3 separate regions of the Homo sapiens genome follow, and regions 1 and 3 are each linked to region 2. The links are contacts of gene promoters, found by promoter capture Hi-C in blood cells and fetal thymus (Javierre and others, 2016). All regions are on one chromosome and are shown on one strand. Each heading gives the region's core, a stretch centred on a gene start or on the middle of the fragment in contact. The rest is flanking DNA. Distances are from core to core; before and after follow the strand shown.

Region 1 (4,252 bases), core at 505-3,004, 380 kb before region 2:
CACCCTTAAAGCAAGAGGTTCAGACCAGATCAGTGGTTCTTGGTCGTTCATGGGTCCTGTGTGGTGTGGGGGAAGCAGGCCAGTTTCCAGGCGTCGATGCCATCAGTGGTCAGCCCTGGGGCTGTGACTCTTGGTGCCCAAGACTAAAACAGACACCCCATGACTTTCAGGAGATCACCCTGACAGGTAGGATCGTGGCTGCAGGTTTGCTTAAAACGAAATTGTTTATTTGGGCTGTTCTGATTCCTGCAAGCAGGAGCTCAGATGTGCCTGTGGCTCAGCTTAAGCCTGGCCACCCGGTCCCTGTCCTGGGGGTGTCCACGAAACAGGATGAATAGAATCTGGGTCCTCCACACCAAAAAGTCCAACGCTCATATCTTAGACCAGTGGTTCTCAACTGGAGCCAATTCTGCTCCCCGGGAGACATTTGGCAATGTCTGGGGATACGTTTTGTTGTCATACCTCAGGGGATGCTGTGTGCTAAAAGCGTCTAGTGGGCAGAGGCCAGAGACGCTGCTGAACATCCTACCGGGCACAGACGGTCCCCACCACAGGGAACGATCCTGCCCTGAATGCCCATGGTGCAGCCACAAGAAGCCCCAGCGGAGACAGGCAGCTGAGTGCTCGGTGTCGGGCCCTTGCCTAGAAGGATGAGGTCCAAATGGTGGCCTGGCTTTCGGTGGCCTTTGTGGCCTAACCCAGCCTCAGCCCTGGGTGCTGGGCACTCTGGCATCATGTGCTAGGTTAGTCCCACTGGGTCGTGGCACTTTTAGAGGGTGGGCTTTATGCAGGGAACTCTGGAAGGCTCAGATTCAGCCTTGGGCATCCATCTTCTCCCCATGGGGGACTCAAGCAGGAAATCAAAGGACTCTTCATTCTGTGGTGGGAGGCACTGGAAAGGGCCTTCCCTCCTCCTCCCTCAAAGCTCAAACCTGGATCTTCCACCAGCAGTCATCAGTGCAGGGTGGAGGTCAAAGTGACCCTCATGGAAGGAGGAGGTAAAGGACTGCCCAGGGCACATTGCTTTTGCCCACCAGCAAACCCAGCTTAGCCAGGGTCCTGGAGCTGCCCCATCAGGGCGGTGCTGGTCGGTTGCCACAGGCGAGGAGTGATTGTATGTTGGGGTCAGGGAGGGCCAGGAGCATCCCTCTCCAGACTCAGGTCCTTGGCTCTCCTACCGAGGAAGGGGTTCATGGACAAGCGCAGACCAGGCCTCACCTGGACTCCAGATCCTCATCTGCAGAGATGGGGGCTCGCCCCTGCCTCAGCCTCACTCAGCACACCTGGCCCTCATCACCTCCTCTCTCGGCTGACTGCCAGGCTCAGGCAGCCTGGAGTTTTGGTCAAGGTGCAGCTGGATGTGCTGGGCAGCCTGACCTCAGCTCTCCTGGTCCTGGAGAGGACTTTTGTTAGAGACACAGAGCATTTGTTTTAACATAGAAGATGTGATGTGAGTTTGTCTATGAGGCAGTCCCGAGCCTCCCTGTCAAATGCCTCACCTCCTGGGTTCATGACCCTCACAGAGGTCAGAAGTCACAGGGAGCCTACACATTTCATTCCCAGTGAACCCATGCTAGCTCCTGGTGTTACAGGATCTTTTGGGTGTCGTCTTTTTAGCTGGAAACCTCTGTGACCAGTGGCGTCTTTGCCTGAGTTTTTGTCCTGCATCCAGGAAGAATGAGGTATGCAGACAAGTAGAGGGTAAGCAAGACAAAGAGGAGCTTTATTGAGTATTAGAACAGCTCAGAGGAGACCTGCAGTGGGTAGCTCCTCTTTCTAGGCAGGTTGTCCCATCGAGTGTTCAGCTCTCCGCAGAGAGGAAGCCCCAGAGAGGGTAGTGCCTCTCTGCAGGCAGGTTATTCTGACATCTCCTCAGGTCTCTGAAGCTCTCAGCAGAGAGGGTAGCTCCTCTCAGCAGCTGATCAACTTGTAATCTGCTCAGCTCTGGCTGAGCCCAGGGTTTTTATGGGCCTCAGAGGGGAGAAAGTGCATGCAGATTGGTCCATGGGTAGCCATGGGCAGGCCCAGAAAAGGCACCACAAATTCCCATTCAGGTTGGTGGGACTGGAAGCCCAGCCTCCAGCCTTCAGGCCCTCCCTGGCCCTAAAGGTGGAGCCTCACGGGGGACCCGTCCCCTTCCTCCCAGGAATGTGCCTGCCTCCTGCTGCCATTCATGGCACCAGGGCTTGGCCCTGACTTTGCTTTGAGATCAAAGCAGGCACTGACGGCAGGGAAAAGCCAGGCAGTGGGAACAGGCACTTCCAAGCCTGCAAGGGCAGTGGGGGCCTTCCCAGGTCCCTGAGTGCAGAAATTCCTGAGTCTGCAGCTACAGTTTTGGTGGCTGCAGCTGTGCCTGGGAGGGTAGGGCTCTTGCCTGCTCCTGTCCCAAGAGCACAGGGATGCTCAGATCTGCAGCCACAATTTGGGCGGCTGCAGCCCCACCTAGGAGGGTGGGGCTCCGGCCTGCTCCATGGAGTATGCGGCCCTGGCCATGCCTCCCTGCTGCAGTCTGTGTGATGGCAGTGGGAGGCCATCTTGGAGCAGCCACTGCCGTCACTGGTGCTCACCCCCTCCTTCTGCTCCCTGGGCTCTTGGATATCCCTTAGCTTCTGCCCTGAATTGGGTCAAGCTCCTGGATTTGCCTTTGGGGGCTCCTCATTCTCCCTCCAGAAATGCCAGAGCTCTGTCTGCCCTTCTCTGGATGAGGGGTCCTGGTGGGCACACACAGGCTCCTGCTGGAAATCATCTGACGCCCGCAGCCTCCTCCCCAGGTGGCCCCTGCTCCCCATCCCCAGTGGGGACTCTGTCCCTCCTGGGAGGGACTGCTTCTCCCCTAGGAGCCCTCCACCTCCCTTGGCAAGGGCTGGGAACCCCCTAGGGGCTCAGGGTGTACACTGAGAGGACTTGGGGTGTGGACCTTCCCACGGAACTTTCTGCAGTTTACACGTTTGCCAGAACTATCATTTGCCAATTGTGCTTGATCTCTGGAGCCACCTGGGTGTTGATTAAACATTCAGATTCCTAGCCCCTTCCCTGAGATATTTCGGAGAAGTGGGCCTGTGGTAATGCTAAAAATTGGCTGGTCAGGCAAGCTGGGGACACTCCATCCAGGGCCCACCTCTGGTGCCCCCCTCTCTCAAAATCTTCAGTAGCTCCCCAGTGACCATAAGTAACGTCCTGCTCCTTAGCCTGGCACTCCGGCTGTCTGTGCGTGTGCCCTTGCCTCCCCCTTTCCTCTGCTCCATAACCTGCTGGGCCTCCAGGAGCCATTGCTCACAGGGCTCCATCATTTCAACTTCTGCTCCCCATCGCCACATGGCCAAGCCCTCCTGTGTTTGTTTTATAGTGTGTATATATTACTACGAACTGAGCGGCTTACAACCACATCTATTTATTAGCTCACAGTTCTGTACTTAAGAACTCCAGCCTGGCGTGGATGCCTGCACTGCTCAGGGTCTCCCAAGGCTGCAATCAAGGCATCCCAGGGCTGGATCTTATCTGGAGGCTTTGGAAGGGATCCTCTTCCAAGCTCATTTGGGCTGTTGGTAGAATTCAGTTCCCTGTGGCTGTAGGACTGAGGTGCCCATTTCCTGGTCAGCTGTCAGCCAGGGGCCACTCTCAGCTCAGAGAGCTCCTACATTCCTCACTTCAAGGCCCCTCCATCTCCGAAGCTAGCGATGACAGGGCTTCTCATGCTTCACAGCCCTCTGAATGGCCCTTTGGCCACAAGTCAGTAAAAACTGCGCCTGGAAAGGGCTTGCGTGATGGGGCCAGGCTCACTGGGAAAAATCTCTGTTTGACGAACTCAAAGGCAACTGTATTAGTCAGGGTTCTCTAGAGGGACAGAACTAATAGGATGTATGTATATAAGAAAGGTAGTTTATTAAGGAGAATTGAGTCAGATGATCACAAGGTGAAGCCCCACGATAGGCCGTCTGCAAGTTGAGGAGCAAGAAAGCCAGTGGTAGATCAGTTGGAGTCTCAAAACCTCAAAAGTAGGGAAGCCAACAGTGCAGCCTTCAGTCTCCAGCCTGAGACCCCCTGGCAAACTGCTTGTGTAAGTTCAAGAGTCCAAAAGCCGAAGAACTTAGAGTCTGATCTTCAAGGGCAGGAAGCATCCAGCACGGGAGATAGACGAAGGCTGGAAGACTCAGCAAGCCAGCTTCTTCCACTTTCTTCTTCCTGCTTTTTCTAGCTGCACTGGCAGCCCATTTGATGGTGCCCATGCACACTGTGGGTGGGTCTTCCTGAG
Region 2 (3,844 bases), core at 900-3,399:
TTTTTTTTTTTTTTGAGACAGAGTCTCATTCTGTTGCCCAGGCTGGAGTGCAATGGCGCGATCTTGGCTCACTGCAAACTCCACCTCTCAGGTTCAAGCGATTCTCCTGCCTCAGCCTCCTGAGTAGCTGGGATCACAGGCACCCACCATCTCGCCTGGCTAATTTTTGTATTTTTTTTAGTAGAGATGGGGTTTCACCATGTTGGCCAGGTTGGTCTCCAACTCCTGACCTCAGGTGATCCGCCCGCCTCGGTTTCCCAAAGTGCTGGGATTACAGGCGTGAGCCACCACGCCCGGCCAGCTCTCTGCAGACACCATCTGGGCGTCCTACACTTCAGTTCAATTCTGACGCTGGCCACCCAGAGTTAGCACAGGCCCGAGAGGATATGGGCTCCGTCCTGCAAGACCGTCCCTACTTCAGATGTCAGTTGCAAAGATTGGGCGCTCAGGTTACCCACACTTCCGTCTGACTTGGCTACACATCAGGGGTCCCCAGAACGCCCTCCTCGGGTTTGGTAATTGGCTAAAATGGCTCACAGAACTCAGGGAAACACTTTGGTTACATGTATAGGTTTCTAAGACCTTATACAAACTGGGCCCATTAGTCTTTGCTCCCTGATACTATCTGATACCATCTGGTCTCATTCCTTCCTGAATGGAATAATTCCTTCCTCATTCATTATCACAAGGACAATAATGTCCTTGTAAAGGACATTATTGATGATACAGATGAACAGGAAGACGAAGAGGCACACAGGGCGAGCTCTGGTGGGGCCCGGGCACAGGAGCTTCTGTCCCCGTGGAGTTGGGGGGCGCCACCCTCCCAGCATGCGGATGTGTCCACCAGCCCAGAAGCTCTCTGGATCCTGTAGTTCAGGGATTTTTACGGAGGCTTCATTACTTACGCGTGATGGATTATTAGCTCAATCTCCAGCCCCTCTCCCTTTCCTGGAGGGTGGGGGTGGAGCCAAAAGCTCCAGGCTCCTCGTCGAATCTGGGTCTTTCTGGTGCTCAGCCCCCAACCCCACCCAGGAGCCACTGAGAGTCACCTCATTAAACCAAAGACAAGGGATTAGGAGCTTTGTGTCAGGAACCCGGAAAGAGACCAAATAGAAGTGAATGTTTCTTATTATGTCACACAGCCACACCACGAGGTTGGTGCAGGAGCCCTTGAAGGAAGCCCTTGGAGGATCTGAGACCAAGAGGGCCTGATCAGATCGGAGTTTTGGAAATGTAACCTGGCAGCCTAGGGGAGGACTGGACAGAGTGGGGAGGACAGAGGGGAACTGATTCACCAGAGGGAGGGCGTGAAGTGAGTGAATGAATGAGTGAACCAATGAATGAACAAGATGGGAAGGAAGGAGTGAGACCAGATGGTATCAGATAGTATCAGGGAGCAAAGACTAACGGGCCCAGTTTGTATGAGGTCTTAGAAACCAGATCAAGGAGGTGGGATCAACGGTGCTTTCCTCTAAAGAAGCACATTTCCGGCCGGGCGCGGTGGCTCACGCCTGTAGACCCAGCACTTTGGGAGGCCGAGGCGGGTGGATCACCTGAGGTCAGGAGTTCGAGACCAGCCTGGCCAACACGGTGAAAACCCATCTCTACTAAAAATACAAAAATTAGCTGGGCATGGTGGGGGGTGCCTGTAATCCACACTACACAGGAGGCTGAGGCAGAGAGAATGGTTTGAACCCCCGGGAGGCAGAGACTGCAGTGAGCTGAGATCACGCCACTGCACTCCAGCCTGGGCGACAGAGCGAGACCCTGTCTCAAAAAAAAAAAAAAAAAAAAGAAGCAGCAGCAGCAGCAAATTTCCAGGAAGAAGCAGGCTATGGAGATCAGGGCAGGCAAAGGACAGAATTAGGTTAGTGCATCAACTGGGTCCAACCAGGAAGACACATGTGTTTATCTCCTGCAGCACCAAAAACCACCCAGAAGACAGCTCAGTGGACCCTAGCAGTGGATTCTACATGTCTGCAGAAAATGAGCAGAAAACAAGCCAGAGTTACAGCTATCTGCAGAGAGACTACATCCAGGAGGTCTGAAGACTGAAAGTAATCACTGCAGTCTGACTTCTACCACTGACACCCTTCCCATACATAATTTAAATGTGTAATTATAATACCATTGCTTAGTTAACGGACACCAATTCGTGCAGGAGCTGCCACAAACAGTAATAAACCAGCTGTGTTAGAAATGGATCACTTATCAGTGCGTGCCCAAGCCTCCTAATGCCTCATGATGTTTAATAATTAAATTGTGACACCTTGAACCCGCAGCTGACACCATGAATCACAGTGGAATTCTCCAAATGGAATGCAGCCACACCTCAGCTTCTGTGCTGCGTGCTGCCACTGAGGACATTCGATACCATTGAAGCCGTCAGATAGAGGTGGGTTATTTCCCTGTGCCCTGCACCTCCCTTCTGGCAAGTCCCTGGGAAGCAGTGGCCACAGATGAGCTGCTGCTCTCTTAAAGACTGAGATCAGGCCGGGCGCGGTGGCTCATGCCTGTAATCCCAGCACTTTGGGAGGCTGAGGCAGGCAGATCACCTGAGGTTGGGAGTTCGAGACCAGCCTGGCCAACATGACGAAACCCTGTCTCTACTAAAAAATACAAAAAATATTAGCTGGGTGTGGTGGTACGCGCTTGTAATCCCAGCTACTTGGGAGGCTGAGGCACAAGAGTTTCTTGAACCCAGGAGGCAGAGGTTATATGGAGTCTCGCTCTGTCACCCAGGCTGGAGTGCAGTGGCTCAATCTCGGCTCACTGCAACCTCATTTCAGGAGATGAGACCGGCATCCTTGTGGGAGAAGATGGCCCTGAGCTGGGCATGGCAGAAGGGCTGCGGAGTGTGTGTGTGTGTGTGTGTGGTGTGTGTGTGTGTGCACACATGCGCACATGTGTGTGTGAGAGAATGTGTGTGTGTTGGAGATGATTACCGAAGCCTTCCTGGCACATAGTAGGTCTTTTTTCCCACAAAGAGTAATGTGATTATTGGTAGTAATGGTGACTGTCACCGTGCTTCTCACAGGCCGTATTTCAAAAGGTCTACGGTGGCTCCGTTTCTTCTCTGAGACTTCAAAAGTCCTTCAAGAGTGAGTTCCCGTCTCATTCTATGTCCAGGATGAAGACGGATGGCCTCTTGGCACCCATCTCTTTGGCATGAACGATGTGGGGAAACGTGAATGGAAATGGGGAACTGTTGCTGGCACCCAGAAGTCATCCGGTCCGGATGAAGCCAAGTCACAAGGAAGTGCCTCCAATTATTCTTCATAAATTCCTCTGAGGTTTCACTTCTTGTCCACACAAGACTTTAATAAAATGTGGCATCTAACTGAATAAAGACTATCCTTTCGGGTGTGTGTGTCATGACAGTACTATTTATGGAGGACCTCCTGTGTAGCAGTTCTTGCACTGTTTTACGTAATCATCCCCTTTCATCCTAACAATCACTCCTGTGAAGTATGTGTCCTTATTTTCATTTCGTTGTAGAGAAAACCAAGGCTCTGAGACATTAAGCAATGTGCCCAAGGACACACAGCTAGTAAGTGGCTGGATTTGAGCGCAAGCCTACAAGAAACTGTAAGTTTCTTATTTGTATTTATTAATTCATCATATTGTCATTTCTTCAAAATGCAACTGAATCTCATAAAATGTCAGTGGCAGAATCTAGGTGGAAGGTGCCCTGGTATTCACTGTAAAATTCCTTCAACTCGGCTGTATATTTGAAAATTTTCATGTTACAATATTAGGAAAAAAACCCTTGATTTCCAGGTGTTTTTTCACCTGGACAAACTTGAGAACTTTGGAAAAGCTGGCTTACCTCCTCGAATTCTAG
Region 3 (3,752 bases), core at 953-3,452, 260 kb before region 2:
TCCAGTCTGGCTGGTGGAAATAAACATTATTCCTGGGCCCGTGTGAGCACCAGGTACTTTTTTTTTTTTTTTTTTTTTTTTTTTTGAGATGGAGTTTCGCTCTGTCGCCAGACTGGAGTGCAGTGGCACAATCTCAGCTCACTGCAACCTCCACCTCCTGGGTTCAAGTGATTCTCCTGCCTCAGCCTCCCGAGTAGCTGGGACTATAGGCGCCTGCCACCATGCCCGGCTAATTTTTTATACCTTTTTTTTTTTTTTTGAGACAGAGTCTTGCTCTGTCGCCCAGGCTGGAGTGCGGTGGTGTGATCTCGGCTCACTGCAAGCTCTGTCTCCCAGGTTCACGCCATCCTTCTGCCTCAGCCTCTCGAGTAGCTGGAACTACAGGTGCCCACCACCATGCCCAGCTAATTTTTTGTATTTTTAGTAGAGACGGGGTTTCACCATGTTAGCCAGGATGGCCTTGATCTCCTGACCTCGTGATCCTCCCGCCTCGGCCTCCCAAAGTGCTGGGATTACAGGCATGAGCCACCACGCCCGGCCTGTACTTTTAGTAGAGATGGGGTTTCACCATGTTGGCCAGGATGGTCTCAATCTCCTGACCTCGTGATCTGCCTGCCTCAGCCTCCCAAAATGTTGGGATAACTGGCGTGAGCCACTGTGCCCGGCCTGTTCTTTTTAATCCTTTAGGATGATTCTCTCCACAAGCCTCAATTATTTTCCTCCCATATTTGCAGTGATCTGTATTCTGGGGGACACTGGAAAGGCACCCCTGCACGTCTCTCACTTCCCTCCCTGCATAACTCTCTTTTCTCTGAAACTCTGTCCAGTGAACTCCAGCTGCCTTGATCTTCCTGGACTCCCAGCCCCACCTCTGGAACTTGGGAGTCTTCTGGGATCTGTCTGGCTTCCCCCTGCCTGCACCATGGCCGGGGGAGAAATCTCCCTCTCTCAAGGCAGAAATGTGGGGCAATTAGAGGGGCTCACCTTGCTTGTTTCCTTTCTCTCTGGGATCACTGCATTTAATTTTGCCTGATGTCGGGGTCTTGGAAGCCACTGTCTCATGTATTCTGTCTGATTATTTCAGTTGCTGCAGGTGTGGTAAAGAAGCCTGTTACTCCATTTTGGCCAGAAGCAGAAGTGCTCTCTCGTTTTAAATCAAGGATTGGCCACCTCCTACTTGCAAGGCGCGTGACCGCCACACAAAGCCAGACAAATGTCAGCCCTCTCCTGACTACAACTCCACCGAAGGGATAATGGATTGGTGGTGGTAGTGATGGGGAAAACTGCAGACAATAATTCTTACAGAAAGAGAATAAAATGTGATTTGACACAGGTTACTAGGTACCAGGGCTGGCCAGGTTCCCTGGACAGAGGCAAGCAAGCCAGACGCAACCTCCTGGTGGGATGCCCACGGCTTTGTTCATGCAGACGAAAAGCCTGGTGTTCCCCATCTCTGCGATGCCAAGGCTGAGAGAGCCTGGAACCCCTGGCTTGTGGTTCTGATTGCTGTTCAGAGAGCAGTTTCCCTTTGAACTGGAGAAAGAGACTGACAAAGGTGCCACGCGCCAGGAAGAAGGGGGAGAACAAATTTCCCCAGGTGAGGGCAAAACAAAATAAGAGCCAGTTGAGGGGTTGATTGTGATTCAAGCTGCATCAAGCCAAGCTTGGAATTATGCTAACTACAGCCATGGTCATTACCACCCTGGTCCCTGAGAGCCACTATGCTCTGAGCATTCCCAGGGTTACCTTGTTTGGTCTACATGGTGACCAGTAGGGTCGCTTGTAGCCTTTCTATTTGGGAGAGGCTGGTGCTTGTCTGGGAGGAGGAACTCTCCCTCACCATGGCTGAGCAGGCACAGTGGAGCCAGCCCTGCCCTTGGGGTGGGCAGCAGCAGGGGCTGCAAGCCGTGTTGCCCTCTGGGCAGGCAAGGTCCTCCTTCCTGCAAATGAGATGCTACACAAGAGGGTCTTGACAGGAAGGGTCCGCCCAGGGTTCAGTCTCCTGTTGGGCTGCAAGGAGTTGTTAGCAAAGTTGAGGACCCCGGCTCCATAACCGGTGGCAGCACTAGCAAGTGTGTGTGTGTGTGTGTGTGCGCGCGCAAGTGTGCACGTGTGAGTGTGAGCATGTGTGGTAGCAGGGACTCCCAGAGCTCCGAGTCCAAGGCTGAGACTGGGCCCGCCGATGCTCTCCAGTTCTACAACTGTCACAAGAATGTGGCAGCCAGGGCTAAGCTGGGGAGCTAATCCGGCTTTGATGCTGACCCTCTGGCCATCCAGGGCGCTGAGGTCAGGACCACCCGCTCCGGCCCTGGATGAAATGCAGTGGGAGTGGAAGGCTGGAGTGCCCTGGGACTGACGAAGACTCGCCCCTGGGACCACCTTGTTGCAACTCCTGCTTCTGAGAACGGAGCACGGGGCCGTCCATGTGCTATTCACTCAGCAGCTGCTTGCCAGGCACCTGGCATGTGCCAGGGCTGCCCAAGGCACAGGGATGCAGTGGTGAGCAAAGGGACCCACATACTACCCTTGTGAGCCAGATAGTGCATTTAATAGACCCTGGGCCAGCCAGATGGCTGCAAGTCCAAGACAACCGGGAGGCAGGGCAGGGGAGACAGGCCACTGCAGGAAGGAGGCTGCAGGTGCAATTTCATGGAGAAGGTGACATTTTAGCAGACTGGGAGGAGGTGTGGGAATGAGGTGGCAGATGTCTGAGGGAGGAGCGTCCGGGTGAAGGAAGCTTCTGGTGCCTTGGGCCTGAAGCAGGAGGAAGCTTTGTCTGAGTGAGGAGCACCTCAGCGGCCGCGGCGGCAGAAGGGGAAGCCAGGGCAGTGCCCCTTCTGTGGGCTCCAGGAGCACCGGGCTGTGCGCTGAGCAAGCTGAGAGTCTTTGGAGGGTTTTGGCAGAAGAATGATGTGATTTGACTTAGGTTCAGAAAGGATGATGGGTGGGGACTTATGGTGGCCACACCAGGGGCAGGGAGCCCAGGGAAGGTGCAGCCGTGACCATCAGGAAGAGCAAAGGCAGCTTGCCTTGGCTTAGCCCGGGAGGCCGGGTTCTGGCCATGTCTGGAAGGGAGAGCCATGGGATTTTCTGACGGAATAAACGTGAGACTGGAGAGAAAGAGGGGAGTCAGGGACAAGTGTAAAGTTTGCGTGGGGAGAAAAGGGAGGAAAGGAGTTGTCATTTTCTGAGTTTGGGAAGTTGCGGGCGGGGACAGGTCTGGGCTGGGGCGGGTGCCAGGCGAGGCATCCGGCTTGGCCTGGAGTTGGATGTAGGAGTCTGGAGCTCAGGGCACCGTCCAGGCTGCACATATTTGGGGGTCATAGGAGAATTATTGTGTCTGAAGAACTGGATGGGTTTCCAGGGAATGTAGAAGAGAGAAACCCGGTGGAGAGCACAGGGGAGAAGCCGCCAGTGGGGAAGGCAGGGAACCCAGCAGGAGGGCAGGAGAAGGAGGAGTCGCAGCCAGACTGAGGGACATGAAAGGCTTCAGAGGAGGGGCTGTGGGGTGGGAGAAGGGGGATCCCAATGGGAGACGCAAGTGGATGGCACTTGAAGGGCTTTACTTTGAGAAAGAGCAGAGACACGCAGGGCTGTGGAGTGGTGGGGGGCCCGGGGGGGCGCAGAGATCCAAGGGGCTCGGCTGGCAGCCAGCTCGGCCGGGGGTGGGCAGTGAGTCTGGGGCAGGGGGCTTCCGGTGCTGCTGTTTCCAGAGCTGGAAGGAGGGGACAGGGAGGGGACAGGCGCGCAGG

What was found. Contacts are between HindIII fragments. The CHiCAGO score rates a contact against its expected background, and 5 or more counts as called.
Region 1: a contact is called between a fragment that was not itself captured here and the fragment with the promoter of LINC01589 in region 2, in 9 of 17 cell types (M2 macrophages, M1 macrophages, endothelial precursors and 6 more). The highest score is 13.7, in M2 macrophages.
Region 3: a fragment that was not itself captured here is called in contact with the fragment with the promoter of LINC01589 in region 2 in 3 of 17 cell types (endothelial precursors, erythroblasts and megakaryocytes); the score reaches 9.1 in endothelial precursors.

The regions. Positions count from the first base shown.
Region 1 is chr22:45,985,548-45,989,799 of GRCh38, reverse strand. No RefSeq gene overlaps it. Among named protein-coding and RNA genes, the nearest start is that of WNT7B, 11 kb to the right of the region's middle. RefSeq lists enhancers at 1,939-2,439, 2,440-2,940. The HindIII fragment of the contact is 8,373 bases long and covers 1-4,252 here.
Region 2 is chr22:45,603,952-45,607,795 of GRCh38, reverse strand. LINC01589 (long intergenic non-protein coding RNA 1589) reads left to right here and starts at 2,149. Exons shown (of 2, transcript NR_131244.1): 1 at 2,149-2,395; 2 at 3,038-3,364. The HindIII fragment of the contact is 5,695 bases long and covers 1-3,844 here.
Region 3 is chr22:45,867,860-45,871,611 of GRCh38, reverse strand. It overlaps LOC105373071, which reads right to left. Exons shown (of 6, transcript XR_007068133.1): 1 at 985-3,752. Among named protein-coding and RNA genes, the nearest start is that of WNT7B, 110 kb to the left of the region's middle. RefSeq lists an enhancer at 3,695-3,752. The HindIII fragment of the contact is 1,074 bases long and covers 1,666-2,739 here.